Linked DNA regions of Homo sapiens: region 2 is linked to region 1. Evidence: promoter capture Hi-C in human tissues and cell types (Jung and others, 2019). All regions are on one chromosome and are shown on one strand. The core of a region is centred on a gene start or on the middle of the fragment in contact, and the rest is flanking DNA. Distances in the headings are between cores, read along the strand shown. Region 1 holds the start of RAB11FIP3 (RAB11 family interacting protein 3). Region 2 overlaps AXIN1 (axin 1).

Evidence for each region. Contacts are between HindIII fragments. The study calls those that stand out against the background at their distance.
Region 2: a contact is called between a fragment that was not itself captured here and the fragment with the promoter of RAB11FIP3 in region 1, in 1 of the 25 tissues and cell types used here (dorsolateral prefrontal cortex).

Annotation. Positions count from the first base shown.
Region 1 is chr16:419,302-426,898 of GRCh38, forward strand. It overlaps RAB11FIP3 (RAB11 family interacting protein 3), which reads left to right and starts at 6,348. Exons shown (of 14, transcript NM_014700.4): 1 at 6,348-7,419. The coding sequence starts at 6,706. The HindIII fragment of the contact is 17,968 bases long and covers 1-7,597 here.
Region 2 is chr16:293,566-301,162 of GRCh38, forward strand. AXIN1 (axin 1) reads right to left here. Exons shown (of 11, transcript NM_003502.4): 6 at 4,157-4,686; 7 at 3,491-3,661; 8 at 1-153. Among named protein-coding and RNA genes, the nearest start is that of PDIA2, 14 kb to the left of the region's middle. The HindIII fragment of the contact is 5,628 bases long and covers 1-4,064 here.

The DNA of each region.
Region 1 (7,597 bases), core at 5,098-7,597:
CCACCCGCCTCGGCCTCCCAAAGTGCTAGGATTACAGGTGTGAGCCACAGCGCCCAGCTGCACCCAGCTAATTTTTGTAGTTTTAGTAGAGATGGGGTTTCACCATATTGGCCAGGCTGGTCTTGATCTCCTGACCTCGTGATCCACCCACCTTGGCCTCCCAAAGTGCTGGGATTACAGGCGTGAGCCACCGCACCCGGCCTATGCTAAGTTTTTAAACGTTTTCTTACTTTAGAGAGGGAGTTTTGCCCCGTTGCCCAGGCTGGAGTGCAGGGCTATTCACAGGCACAATCACAGCTCACTACAGCTTCAAATTACTGGACTCCAGCATTATGCTAAGTGAAATAAGCCAGTCAGAGAAAGAAGACTTCATGGTCTCATTTATATGTGGAATCCAGAAAAACCTCTGGGTCTTAAGAGCTCCTCCCACCTCAGTCTCTTGAGTAGCCGGGACTACAGGTGTGCACCACCACACCTGGCTAATGTTTTTTTGTTTGTTTTTTGAACTCCTGGGCTTAAGTGATCCTCCTGCCTCAGCCTCCCAAAGTGCTGGGATTACAGGCATGACCCACTGTGCCCAGTGGAAATGAATGTTATAGATATAGTCAAAGTTGTACTTCACCCTTTCTCTTCTGTCTGTCCTCTTGAATATAATTCTTTTTTCTTTCTTTCTTTTTTTTTTTTTTTTTGAGACAGAGTCTCGCTCTGTTACCCAGGCTGGAGTGCAATGGTGTGATCTCAGCTCACTGCAACCTCCGTCTCCGGGGTTCTAGCAATTCTCCTGCCTCAGCCTCCCCAGTAGCTGGGATTACAGGCATGCGCCACCATGCCTGGCTAATTTTTTGTATTTTTGTAGAGACAGGTTTCAGTATTTTGGCCAGGCTGGTCTTGAACTCCTGACCTCAAGTGATCCACCCCATTGGCCTCCCAAAGTTGGGATTACAGGTGTGAGCCACCGCACACGGCCTCAATGTAATTCTCAAGTATGTTTAGGTATTTTTTACTACAAACGAAAGCATTTGAAAACAAGATAGGTCATTGATCATGTGTTTTTAAACTTAACAAAAATTGGCTAGGCACGTTGGCTCACGCCTGTAATCCTAGCACTTTGGGAAGCCAAGGCGGGCAGATCACCTGAGGTCAGGAGTTCCAGATCAGCCTGGCCGAGATGGTGCAACCCCGTCTCTACGAAAAATACAAAAATTAGCTGGGTGTGGTGGCGGGCACCTGTAATCCCAGCTACTCGGGAGGCTGAGGCAGGAGAATCGCTTGAACCCAGGAGATGGAGGCTGCCGTGAGCTGAGACCGTGCCACTGCACTCCGGCCTGGGCAACAAGAACAGAATTCTGTCTAAAAAAATAAATGAAAAATGGTATTACATAGCATGTACTATCAATTGTGCAGATGTGGTGCACTCACTTAAACTGCTACACTTCACAACAGACAACAGGCTCCACTGAAGCCGTTCGGCTCTTCTTCCAGAGAAGTACAAATCCCCGAAGGAAACAAGGTCTTTCCATCTCCCTGCGGACATGTGCAGTTTCTCCGGCAGGTACTGGAAGGCGGATCCCACACTGGAGTATTCCGACCTTCAGCTGCACGACTGGTGCCAAATCCCCACTCCCTGGTGTCCCCAGACTTACTCTGATTGGTGTCAAGGGCTACACTCACACATTTTCCTGGTGACCAGTGAAGATGAGCATCTTTTTCATGTGTTTACCGGCCACCTGAATTTCCTCTTCTGGAGCTGCTTATTCATATTCTTTCCTCGTTTTTCTATCGGGTTGCTGTTCGTTTACTGTTTTTTGAGAAATTCTTTTGTGTATTCTAGAAATGAATATTTTGTCCATTAAATCCATTCTAACTCTCTCTTCCCAGTTGCTACCCCAAAATTTATATATTGGAGTCCTAACGCCAACGGGATGGTATTTGGAGATGAGGTCTTTGGGAGGTATAACTTAGGGTTAGGGCCGGGCGCGGTGGCTCACGCCTGTAATCCCAGCACTTTGGGATGCCGAGGCGGGTGGATCATGAGCTCAGGAGATCGAGACCATCCTGGTTAACACGGTGAAACCCCGGCTCTAGTAAAAATACAAAACAATTAGCCAGGCATGGTGGCGGGTGCCTGTGGTCCCAGCTACTGGGGAGGCTGAGGCAGGAGAATGGCATGAATCCGGGAGGCAGAGATTGCAGTGAGCTGAGATGGCGCCATTGCACTTCAGCCTGGACGACAGAGCAAGACTCCGTCTCAAAAAAAAATAATAATAATAATAATTAGGGTTAGATACGGTCAGCAAGGTGGGGCCCTCACGATGGGAACAGTGCCCTTATTAGAAGAGACAGTCTTTTTTTTTCTTTTTTCTTTTTTTGAGACGGAGTTTCACTCTTGCTGCCCAGGCTGGAGTGCCATGGCACAATCTCGATTCACTGCAACCTCCGCCTCCCAGGTTCTAGTGATTCTCCTGCCTCAGCCTCCCAAGTAGCTGGGATTACAGGCATGCACCACCATGCCTGGCTAATTTTTTGTATTTTTAGTAGAGATGGGGTTTCACCATGGCAAGCCTGGTCTTGAACTCCTGACCTCAGGTAATCCACCCGCATCGGTCTCCCAGAGTGCTGGGATTACAGGCGTGAGGCACCGTGCCCAGCCTTATTTTTATTTTATTGTTTTCCTTGAGATGGAGTTTCCCTCTTGTTGCCCAGGCTGGAGTGCAATGGTGGGATCTTGGCTCACTGCAACCTCCACCTCCCGGGTTCAAGTATTCTCCTGCCTCAGCCTCCCAGGTAGCTGGGATTACAGGACACGCCACCACGCTCAGCTAGTTTTTGTATTTTTAGTAGAGACAGGGTTTTACCATGTTGGCCAGGCTAGTCTCGAACTCCTGACCTCAGGTTATCCACCCGCCTTGGCCTCCTAAAGTGTTGGGATTACAGGCGTGAGCCATTACGCCCGCCTTTTTTTTTTTTTTGAGATAGTCTCGCTCTGTTGCCCAGGCTGGAGTGTAGTGGCTGGATCTCAGCTCATTGCAACCTCTGCCTCCCAGGCTCAAGTGATTACCCTGTTCAGCCTCCTGAGTAGCTGGGATTACACGCACCCGCCACCGCCCCCGGATAATTTTTTTTCTTTTTTTTTGAGACAGAGTCTCACTCCATCACCCAGGCTGCAGTACAGTGGTGTGATCTTGACTCACTGCAACCTCCACCTCCCGGGTTCAAGCAATTCTTTGCCTCAGCCTCCTGAGTAGCTGGGATTACAGGTGCCCGCCACCACGGCCGGCTAATATATACATATATTTTTTAGGTGGAGTCTCGCTCTGTCGCCAGGCTGGAGTGCAGTGGTGCGATCTTCGCTCACTGCAACCTCTGCCTCCCAGGTTCAAGCGATTCTCCTCCCTCAGGCTCCCGAGTAGCTGGGACTACAGGTGGGTGCCACCACACCCGGCTAATTTTTGTATTTTTAGTAGAGACAGGGTTTCACCATGTTTGCCAGGATGTTTTCGATCTCTTGACCTTGTGATCCGCCCACCTTGCCTCCCAAAGTGCTGGGATTATAGGCTGAGCAACCGCGCCCGGCCTAAATTTTCTATTTTTTAGTAGATACGGGGTTTCACCATCTTGGCCAGGCTGGTCTTGAACTCCTGACCTCGTGATCCACCCGCCTCGGCCTCCCAAAGTGCTGGAATTACAGGCATGAGCTCCCACGCCCAGCCCAAAAGAGACAATCTTTCTCCAACATGTGAGGACAGAGTGAGAAGATGGAGGCTATGCTTTGAATGTTTATACCCTCCAAAACGCATGTTGAGGCCAAGTGTGGTGACTCATGCCAATAATCCCAGCACTTTGGGAGGCCGAGGTGGGCGGATCACTTGAGGTCAGGAGTTTGAGACCAGCTTGACCAACATGGTGAAACCCCGGTCTCTACTAAAAATACAAAAAATTAGCCGGCCTTGGTGGCATACGCCTGTAATCCCAGCTACTCAGGAGGCTGAGGTAGGGGAATCACTTGAACCCGGGAGGCGGAGGTTGCAGTGACCAGAGATCGCGCCATTGCACTCCAGCCTGGGCGACAGAGTGAGACTCCATATCAAAAAAAAAAAAAAGATAATAAGGTGCTGCAGATCTGTGGTCTCAGCTACTGGAGAGGCTGAGGTGGGAGGATCTCTCTTCTATTTTTATTTTTTATTTTGGAGACGGAGTCTTGCTCTATCATCCAGGCTGGAGTGCAATGGTGCAATCTTGGCTCGCTGCAAGCTCTGCCTCCCGGGTTCACGCCTTTCTCCTGCCTCAGCCTCCCAAATAGCTGGGACTACAGGTGCCTGCCACCACACCTGGCTAATTTTTGTTTTTTTGTATTTTTAGTAGAGACGGGGTTTCACCGTGTTAGCCAGGATGGTCTCCATTTTCTGACCTCGTGATCCGCCCGCCTCAGCCTCCCACAGTCCTGGGATTACAGGCATGAGCTACCACACCTGGCCTAAGGTGGGAGGATCTCTTGAGCCTAGGAGGTTGAGGCTGCCGTGAGCTATGGTCGCACCACTGCACTGCAGCCTGGGCAACAGAGCAAAACCCTGTCTCGGGGAAAAAAAAGAAAAGAAAAGAAAAGAAGGAACTGCTACAGCCCACAGCCTACAAAGGGGACACAGATAGTAGCTCTGAACAGCAGACGGATAGACGGGAACTTGTCCCTTTAGTCTTTCATGAACAGCCTCTAACTGGTCCAGGCAGGGAGGTGCAGGCTTCCAGGCTGTGGTTCCATGGAGGACACCAGCCGGGCACGCAATGGACGTTTTCCAGCCCTAGCACAGACAGAGCGTGCGGGCCCCTGCTCTCAGAAAGCCAGCCTTCTGCCTCTGGCAGCGCCGGCACATAAAAGCAGAGGGAGCCTGCTGTCTCTGCCTCGCCCACACTAACACCCCTATTTAGAAAGGTTGACACATCACTATCACTGCTTCTGAAAATTTTATCCGGCCGAAGGCATCAGCCCAAATTTGAATTCTTGCCAAAGCTGCTGGTGATTTCGTTCTTTGAATGCAGTATCTTCCTCATGAACACGTACAGCTCTTACAAGAAAATGAGAATACGGTTTGGGGAGGAGGATCCCTCACATTCCTTTTCCTAATGCCAGCCTCGCGAAGTCTGGTCCCATGTACCCTGGGATTCTGCCACGGAAGATGACTCACTTAATTAACACGCTGCTCCTGACCGTACACTTGGAAGCAGAGGTTCCGTTCCTTTGGTTCTTGCCAAAGCTGCTTACGAAACCATATCTTGTGTTGGTGCCCATGGTGTGTAAAAATACAAGTTCATCATTTCCCTGATACAAATTATGACAGGCTAAATTTAGTGCCTCACCTGTCCTAACTAGCTTTCCCACCATCATGCCTGCCGCCGGGCTGTGGTCCTTTCTGAGGTCCCGTGTCCCTCTGAGGACAGGGACACCCAGACACAGAGGTCAGTTGTCAGACGCGGCCACGGTGCTCGGGAGGCTGGCTGCAGACGGGCGATTCACCCTGGGTGTCTTCTTGAGTCTTATTTTTTGTAGAGACGAGGTCTCGCTTTGGTGCTCAGGCTGGTCTCAATCTCCTGGGCGCAAGCGATCCTCCCGCTTGGGCGTGGGCCAGCGCGCCCGTCCCAACGCTGGGAGTCCCGGAGATCTTGGTCACAGGCTTAAGGGAAAGGCCTAGCGCGTGGCCGCGCGTGCCTCTGGTTTCAAGGGACATGGACTGCGTGTCTGGGGCCCCTCCGCACTCCGTGTCAGACCCTGCGTCCCCCGGGTCCGCGCGGGACCCGGGCAGGGCGTCGCCCTCTGCGGCGTCTGCGCCCCGCGAACCCTGGGGCACCTGCAACCCCTGGGCCGCGGAGCCAGGCGTGCGCCGCCTCCTGGTCTCATCAACGTGAGAACGCTTTACCCCCGAAGAGCTCAGCTCCTAGGGGGCTATGTCCCTTTGCGTCTCTCGCTCGCCAGGCGGTGCCGTTTACTCGACCGCACCATGCGTGGGTAGCGGTCGCGCCCGCTGGTAGCTGTGCGGCGGGAACACGTTCTAAGTAAGGCCTGACTCCGCGCGCCTCTTGCCAGGGACGTCACGTCACGCCTCCACTCGCAGCCTCGGAGCACCCCCGCGTCCCGCGCCCGAAGCTCGGGACCCCCGCTCTGGCGAAACGAGGAATATGACATACAGCAAAACACCCCTTCGCGGCCGCTGCACTGCCGCGACACACCCGGCGCCTGCCTCTACAGCAAGCCGGCGAGGGGCTGGGACCCCGCCGGGACGTGCTGACGTCAGGCCCGACGGGGGGCGGGGCCTGGGCGGCGGCGGCGTTAGTTCTCCGGGTACCTCAGGCGCCTCAGCCTCCTTAGTCTCCTCATCCTGCTTCACAGGCTCCGCGGCCTCCGGCCTCCTCGGCCCCCGTCCCCCGGCCTCCTCGGCCCCCGTCCCCCGCCATCCGCCGCCCGGATCCTCGCCGCCCTCCCTAGGCCGCCCCGCCGCCATGGGCCTGCGCCCGCCGCGCCGCCGGGCCGAGGGCAGCTGAGGCGCGGTGCGAAGATGGGCGAGGACAGAGCAGGGCCCGAGCGCCAGCCCCAGCAGCCCGGGCGCCCCGCGCGCGCCCGCCCGCGCCGCCGAGGGGATGCCCGCGCCCGCCGCCGCGCCCTGAGCGCCTTTGTCTGCCGCCCGCGCCCTTCCGCACCACTAGCCTCTCGGGAGCATGGCGTCGGCCCCGCCGGCCTCGCCCCCGGGCTCGGAGCCGCCGGGGCCCGACCCGGAGCCGGGCGGGCCGGACGGGCCGGGGGCGGCACAACTGGCTCCGGGCCCTGCGGAGCTACGCCTCGGAGCGCCCGTCGGCGGCCCCGACCCGCAGTCCCCGGGCCTGGATGAGCCTGCGCCCGGGGCCGCTGCAGATGGCGGGGCGCGTTGGAGCGCCGGGCCGGCCCCGGGGCTGGAGGGAGGCCCGCGAGACCCCGGGCCGTCCGCCCCGCCGCCGCGCTCCGGCCCGCGGGGGCAGCTTGCGAGCCCCGACGCCCCGGGCCCAGGGCCGCGCTCCGAAGCGCCGCTTCCAGAACTCGACCCGTTGTTCTCCTGGACTGAGGAGCCCGAGGAGTGTGGCCCCGCGAGCTGCCCGGAGAGCGCGCCTTTCCGCTTGCAGGGGTCCAGCAGCAGCCACCGAGCGCGGGGCGAGGTCGACGTCTTCTCTCCCTTCCCCGCGCCCACGGCGGGCGAGCTGGCGCTGGAGCAAGGTCCCGGGTCCCCGCCGCAGCCCTCGGACCTCAGCCAGACCCACCCCCTTCCGAGCGAGCCCGTGGGGAGTCAGGAGGACGGCCCCCGCCTCCGAGCCGTGTTCGATGCCCTGGACGGGGATGGGGACGGTTTCGTCCGCATCGAGGACTTCATCCAGTTTGCTACGGTCTACGGGGCAGAGCAGGTACGGAGCGGCCCGGGCCGGGGCGTGGGAACTGGGCAGGTGCGCGCTGGCCGGCGGGGTTGATGTGGGACCGGTCGACGCTGCCCCTGGAGTCGGGAAAGGCACTGTCAAGACCTGACGGTCCTGCTTTTTCTGCTTATTCACCACTTCGGCCCTGGATTTCTGGTTGAATTGCGCT
Region 2 (7,597 bases), core at 1-2,500, 130 kb before region 1:
GGGTTGGGAGCTGGGTGGGGTGGCATGGTGGGGTCTTGGATGAAGAGGTGGGAGGGCTGCACGGAGGTCCGGAGCTGAGGGCCGGCCCAGGGGTGCTCAAGGGACAAGGGTCTGGAGTTCTCATGGGGCTGTGGCTTCCTCGTCCCCGAAGACCTTGGGGAACAAGAGAACAAGTTGTGACTGTGGCCGACACCCTGGCCAGGTGGCCTGGTGGGGCTACACTCATCTCACAAGGGCAGCCTCCTTGAGGGATAGGATGGGATGGGGCACTGGGGCCTGGCCACCAAGCCACATGGACGTCCTCCACAGACCACACAATAAAAACATCCCGGCCAGGCATGGTGGCTCACACCTGTAATCCCAGCATTTCGGGAGGCCGAGGCGGGCAGATCACCAGAGGTCGGGAGTTCGAGATCAACCTAACATGGTGAAACCTCATCGCTACTAAATATACAAAATTAGCTGGGCGCCTGTCATCCCTGCTACTCTGGAGGCTGGGGCCCGAGAATGGCTGGAACTGGGGAAGTGGAGGTTACAGTGAGCCGGGATCACGCCACCGCACTCCAGCCTGGGTGACAGAGTGAGGCTCAGTCTCAGGAATAAAAAAGACAACAAAAAACCAACCCTCATTTGCCTGTAATCCCAATACTCTGGGAGGCCAAGGTGGGTGGATCGCCTGAGGTCAGGAGTTCAAGAACAGCCTGGCCAACATGGCAAAACCATGACTCTACTCAAAAAATACAAAAAATTACCCAAGTGTGGTGGTGGATACCAGTAATTCTAGTTACTCGGGAGGCTGAGGCAGGAGAATCGCTTGAACCTGGGAGGCAGAGGTTGCGGTGAGCTGAGATTGCACCACTGCACTCCAGCCTAGGCAAGAGTGAGACTCCATCTCAAAAAAAAAAAAAAAAAAAAAAAATGGCCAGGCGCGGTAATCCCAGCACGCTGGGAGGCCGAGGCGGGTGGATCATCTGAGGTCAGGAGTTCAAGACCAGCCTGGCCAACATGGTGAAACCCTGTTTCTACAAAAATACAAAAAGTTAACTGGGCATAATAGTGGGTGCCTGTAATCCCAGCTACTCAGGTGGGTTAGACAGGAGAACCACTTGAACCTGGGAGGTGGAGGTTGCAGTGCGTTGACACTGGCCTGTTGCACTCCAGCCTGAGCCACAGGAGCGAAACCCCATCTCAAAAAAAAAAAAAAAAAAAAAAAAAGGCCAGGCGCGGTGGCTCACGCCTGTAATCCCAGCACTTTGGGAGGCTGAGGAGGGCGGATCACGAGGTCAAGAGATCGAGACCGTCCTGGCTAACACGGTGAAACCCCACCTCTACTAAAAAAATACAAAAAATTAGCCGGGCGTGGTGGCGGGCGCCTGCAGTCCCAGCTGCTCTTGAGGCTGAGGCAGGAGAATGGCATGAACCCGGGAGGCGAGGCTTGCAGTGAGCTGAGATCAGGCCACTGCACTCCAGCCTGGGCAACAGAGCAAGACTCCGTCTCAAAAAAAAAAAAAAAAAATTCTTTCATGGAGACTTTTTTTTTTTCTTTTTTTGAGACAGAGTTTTGCTCTTGTTGCCCAGGCTGCAGTGCAATGGCTCGACCTCGGATCTCGGCTCACTGCAATCTCCGCCTCCCAGGTTCAAGCGACTCTCCTGCCTCAGCCACCGAGTAGCTGGGATTACTGGCACTCGCCACCACACACGGCTAATTTTTTGTATTTTTTTTAGTAGAGATGGAGTTTTTGTCATGTTGGCCAGTCTGGTCTCGAACTCCGGACCTCAAGCGATCCACCTGCCTCGGCCTCCCAAAGTGCTGGGATGAGGCTTCTTTTTTTACATTTTATTTTTAACAGCTTTACTGGGATACAAATTATATACTAATCCTAGAGGCCGGCGGATAGCTTTGAGTCCAGGAGGCTGAGACTGCAGTGAACGGTGTGATTACACCACTGCACTTCAGCCAGGGTGACAGAGGGAGACTCTGTCGCAAAAAATTAAAAAAAAAGTCTTAATGAATAAAAAGTATAAGTATGTCTCAAAGTGGAATGTATTAATACTTATCCTAAAATATGGGACATGCAATATTTAGTATATACAGCTATTTAAAAAAAGGATTCGGCCGGGCACGGTGGCTCACGCCTGTAATCCTAGCACTCCAGGAGGCCGAGGCAGGCGGATCACCAAAGGTTGGGAGTTCGAGATCAGCCTAACATGGCAACCACCCCCTGCCCCGGTCTCTACTAAAAATACAAAAATCAGCCGGGCGTGGTGGCTCACGCCTGTAATCCCAGCTACTCGGGAGGCTGAGGCAGGAGAATTGCTTGAACCCAGGAGGTGGAGGTTGCAGTTAGCCAAGATTGCACCACTGCACTCCAGCCCGGGCGACAGAGCTAGACTCCGTCTCAAAAAAAAAGACTCGAAGGCCAGGAATGGTGGCTCATGCCTGTAGTCCCAGCATTTTGGGAGGCCAAGGTGGGAGGATCACTTGAGCCCAAAAGCTTGAGACCCAGCTGGGCAACACACTGAGACCCCCTCTACAAAAAATGAGCCAGGCAAGGTGCTGTGCACCCCTGTTCCCTCGGGAGCCCCAGAAAAACGATGAGCCCGTCCCCACCTCAGTCAGCACCGATGGGGACCCCAAGGCCTTGCGGGACAGGCTTCCAACACAGGCAGGAGGGCCACGCCCCAGGCGCTCAGCTGCCTCACAAGTTCTCATCAAGTAATGTGGAGGGAGATGCGTCCTGGCCAGGGCCTGGGTGAGGGTGGGGGGCAGATCAGGACCTAAGTCTGAGGAAGCTGGGGCCATCCACCCACCAGGGCCAACACTTCCCAGCTGACCTGCCTCTGACCACGACAGGAAGGTGGGGGGTACCACCTCTGTGGGGCCCCTGGCCCTCCTGCTGGGTTCCGGGCACGAGTGCAGGCCCAGGGGGCGAGCAGGAGCAACACCAAGACCGGCCCGGCGGGCAGCGGCAGGGGCTGGACCTGTGGCGCCGGGGCCTTGCTCCACACCACACACGAGGCCTCTGCCCTTCTGGGAGGAGAGAAGTGCTCACGCTACACAAGAGCCTTCCCCAGCCCTCAGCAGGACGGCCAGGTGTGAGCACAGAAGGCTCCTCCGTGGGCACCTCGGGAGTGATGGTCAGTGGGGGCCTTCCCAGGTGACTTAGGTCATTCTCATGTGGGGGTCAGACTGGAAATGACCTCCCGAGAGCATCTGTGCTGCCTGCGGGGTGACAGCCACGTCAGCTTCCCTCCTGCTCGGGGCTTCAGGGACAGCCTCTCTCTGGGGACATGAGGTTTTCCTCCTGGAGACGTGGGGCCCAGGGAGCCTGCTGGAGGGTGCCCGGGAGGGTGCCACAGTGACAGGGGAAGTGTGAGGCGTCACAGGCGACACTCGCCACACACACTGAAGCTGCACACACTGAGACTGTGCGGAGGCCAGGGGTGGCAAAGCAGGCCCCACGAGGCTGGCTGCGTGCGGGGTGCTCACCCGTGGCCGGTCCTGCGGTGCCTGCTGATCTCCTTTTCCCCCTCAATGATCCACTGCATGATTTTCTGGTTCTTCTCCGCATCCTCCGAGGCACCTGGCACCTCGGTGCTGGCGCTCTTCCCCGACTCAGCCTTCTTGGCATTTCTTTTGCACGCCACGCCCACCTTCCCACTGCAAGGGCAAGAGCTGCGAGTCGCCCTGGCCTCCGGTGGCCGAGGCTGTGCCCCTTCCTCGTCTGCGAGGCCCCCTCCTGGCATCTGTAAGGCTCCCGTGGTGCAGCCGCCGCCCGCTGTCCCCTGCCCGCTTGTCCCCCACCCGCTGTCCCCCGCCAGCTTGTCCCCCACCCGCTGTCCCCTGCCCGCTGTCCTGGTGCTGTCTGGGGGTTGGTTTCCTCTCTAAACACACAGGCAGTCACTGCTCACCCCCTGAAGACTGAGGGCCAGAGCGGGAGCCAGGGTCGGGCTGTGTCCCCTAACCTTCATCTCCCACCTGAGGTCACGGCGTGGACTCCCCTGACCCAGGGCCCAGTCCACTCCCTCCAGCAGAGGGGCCTCCTGCCTGTTGCTGGCGGTCCTGGGTTTCCTGAGTTTTATGAGGAGGTTCTGGCCTTCTGCAGGGACACAGCCTCACCCCAAGCCCCCTCCTCACTGACAGGCGCACGCTCACCTGTGGGCGAGGCCATCACTGGCGTTGGGGGCAGCGCCAACACTCTCTGAGTAGCCTCGGGACCTTGCCCCATGGCTGTGTGGTTCCAGGCCCCAGGCGAAGCTGCTCTGGGCCCTGCGGGTGGCCTCGGCCTCCACCTGCTCCTTGGGCCGGGCTGTGCTGTGGTGGACGTGGTGGTGGACGTGTCGGTGGTGGTGCAGGCCGGCCGCGTCCAGCTTCGCCCCTGACTTGGGTACGTGCTTCCCGTGCCCCGAGGCGGCACCCCCCAGTGCCACTGGCATCTTGGCCACGTGCCCACTGTCCGGGGAGCGATGGCCAGGCCCAGGCGACTGGCGGCCAGGTGTCCTCAGCACACGCTGTACGTGCTCGTCCAGGATGCTCTCAGGGTTCTCCTCGTGTGCATCCCGGAGCCCGGCACAGCCCATGTCCACACAGCGGGGCGGGAAGTGGTGCCAAGCGGGGGCGGGAGGCAGCTTGTGACACGGCCCTGGGGGCCCTGACGATGGATCGCCGTCCTCACCTTCCTCCTCCTGTGTGGGGACAAGCAGCACCATCACCTCTCAGCACCAGCTGCACACTTGGGGAAAACAAAAAGCATCAGGCCTGACCCAGCAGCCCCAGCAGATGCCGTCCCAGCCCAGGGTGGCCGGGGGCCCCTCGCCACCGGTCCTGTCCCTGAGGATGGAGAGGCAGGACGGGGCATAGACAGAAGGAGCGGAGACAGCAAGGCCTCAAGGAATGCAGCGTATGTATCGGCTGTGGGCAGAGCTCTGCACAGATTTAGTTTAGTTTTATTCTTTTTTTGAGACAAGTTCTTGCTCTGTTGCCCAGGCTGGAGAACAGTGGTGTGATCTCAGCTCACTGCAGCCTCCGCCTCCTAGGCTCAAGCGATCCTCCCACCTCAGCCTCCAGAATAGCGGAGACCACAGCCGTGTGCCACCACGCCCAGCTAATTTTTTTGTACTTTGGGGACAGATGCGATTCTCACCATATTGGCCAGGCTGGTCTCGAATGCCTGAGCTCAAGCAATCTGCCTGCCTTGGCCTGTATATATATATATTTTTTGAGACAGAGTCTTGCTCTGTTACCCAGGCTGGAGTGCAATGGTGCCATCTCGGCTCCCTGCAACCTCTGCCTCCTGGGTTCAAGTGATTCTCCTCCTTCAGCCTCCCAAGTAGCTGAGACTACAGGTGTGCGCCACCACACCCAGCTAATTTTTGTATTTTTAGTAGAGACAGGATTTCACTATGTTGGCCAGGCTGGTCTCGAACTCCTGACCTCATGATCCACCCACCTCGGCCTCCCAAAGTGTTGGGATGACAGGCATGAGCCGCCGCGCCCGGCCTCCCATTATATTTTAAGGAGAACCTTGTACAGAACGGCTCTTGGGTTATGTACATGTTGTGATGCTGCCTGACGAGCTTCCACATGAAGCCGGTGGAGTTTCACTTGATTCTCCAAGTTAACAGGTGCTGAAGCTTATCTGTCAGAGCAAACATTTGATCACTTTAATTCCAAGTTGCATCTCATACTTATTTTCTCATCTTATTGGACTGACAAACTAAAACAGTATTGAGTAAATCTGGTGTCAATACAAAAGAAAGAGAGGGAACTAAGTTACCATGTATCTATGTATGTATTTATTTATTTAGAGTCAGAGTCGCTCTGTCAGCCAGGCTGGAGTGCAGTGGCACGATCTTGGCTCACTGCAACCTCCACCTCCCGGGCTCAAGCAATCCTCCTGCCTCAGCCTACCGAGTAGCTGGGATTATAGGAGTGTGCCACCATGCCTGCCTAATTTTTTTGTATTTTTAGTAGAGACGGGGTTTCACCATGTTGGCCAGGCTGGTCTCAAACTCCTAACCTCAGGTAATCCACCACCCTCGGCCTCCCAAAGTGCTGGGATTACAGGAGTGAGCCACCACAACCGGCCTATTTATTTTCATTTTTTTGAGACAGAGTCTCGCTCTGTCACCCAGGCTGGAGTGCAGTGGCACGATCTCGGCTCACTGCAACCTCCGTCTCCCGGGTTCACACCATTCTCCTGCCTCAGCCTGCCCAGTAGCTGGGACTACAGGTGCCCGCCACCACGCCCGGCTAATTTTTTATATTTTTAGTAGAGATGGAGTTTCACCGTGTTAGCCAGGATGGTCTCGATCTCCCGACCTCGTGATCTGCCCACCTCGGCCTCCCAAAGTGCTGGGATTACAAGTGTGAGCCACCGTGCCCGGCCTATTTTTATTTATTTAATTTTTTTTTGAGACGGAGTTTCACTCTTGTGTCCCAGGCTGTAGTGCAATCTCCGCCTCCCGGGTTCAAGTAATTCTCCTGCCTCAGCCTCCCGGGTAGCTGGGATTACAGGCACCCACCACCATGCCCAGCTAAATTTTTTGTATTTTTAGTAGAGACTGGGTTTCACCCTGTTTGCCAGGCTGGTCTCGAACTCCTGACCTCAGGTGATCCACCCACCTTGGCCTCCCAAAGTGCTAGGATTACAGGTGTGAGCCACCACACCTAATCGCAGTGGTGCCATCACAGCTCAAGGCAGCCTCAACCTCCAGGGGTCAAGCGATCCTCCTGCTTCAGCCTGCCAAGTAGCTGGGACTACAGGTGCATGCCACCATGTCCCATTAATTTTTTCTTTTTCTTTTTTTTTTGTAGAGATGGGGAATCTCACTATGTTGTCCAACCTGCTCTTAAATTCCTGGCCTCAAGTGATCCTTCTGTCTTGGCCTCTCAAAGTGTTGGGATTACAGATGTGAGCCACTGTGCCCCACCTACCTCTATATTTTAATATAAACAAACCTCCCAACGTTTAGCACCCAACTCTCACACCTGCAAAAGTATCCAAATGCAACTGGAACAGGCGTGCCCCAGAGCTGGTGTGGGCTTGGCTGCGGGCACCTGCACTGGGGCTGAGGGTGAAATATGGCACTAAAGAGGACAGACGGATGCTGGAGCAGAGCCGGGGGACAGGTGGGTGGTGGGCATCCCCTGGCGGATGCAGCTATGCTGCCTCCCTTTCCTTGGTTTTGTAGGACTAAAGGGCCCGGGCACTCTGGGGAGAAATCTTAACCGAGGGTCTTCCTAGGGACTAAAAGTGTTTGGAGTTTTGATGCCGTTCACTGCCTTGGCCGAGCTCCACATCGGCAGGAATTCTATCATGGGGCTGTGAAATGTTACAGATTAACTTAACCACTCGGCTAATGGTTTTTGTTTTCTTCTTTGTGCTTTAATTTCCCAAATTTCACAATGAAAATAGGTTATTTAAAAAATCTGGAGTTCACGCCTGTAATCCCAGCACTTTGGGAGGCCGAGGCGGGTGGATCACAAGGTCGGGAGATCGAGACCATCCTGGCTAACATGGTGAAACCCCGTCTCTACTAAAAATACAAAAAAATTAGCCGGGCGTGATGGTGGGCGCCTGTAGTCCCAGCTACT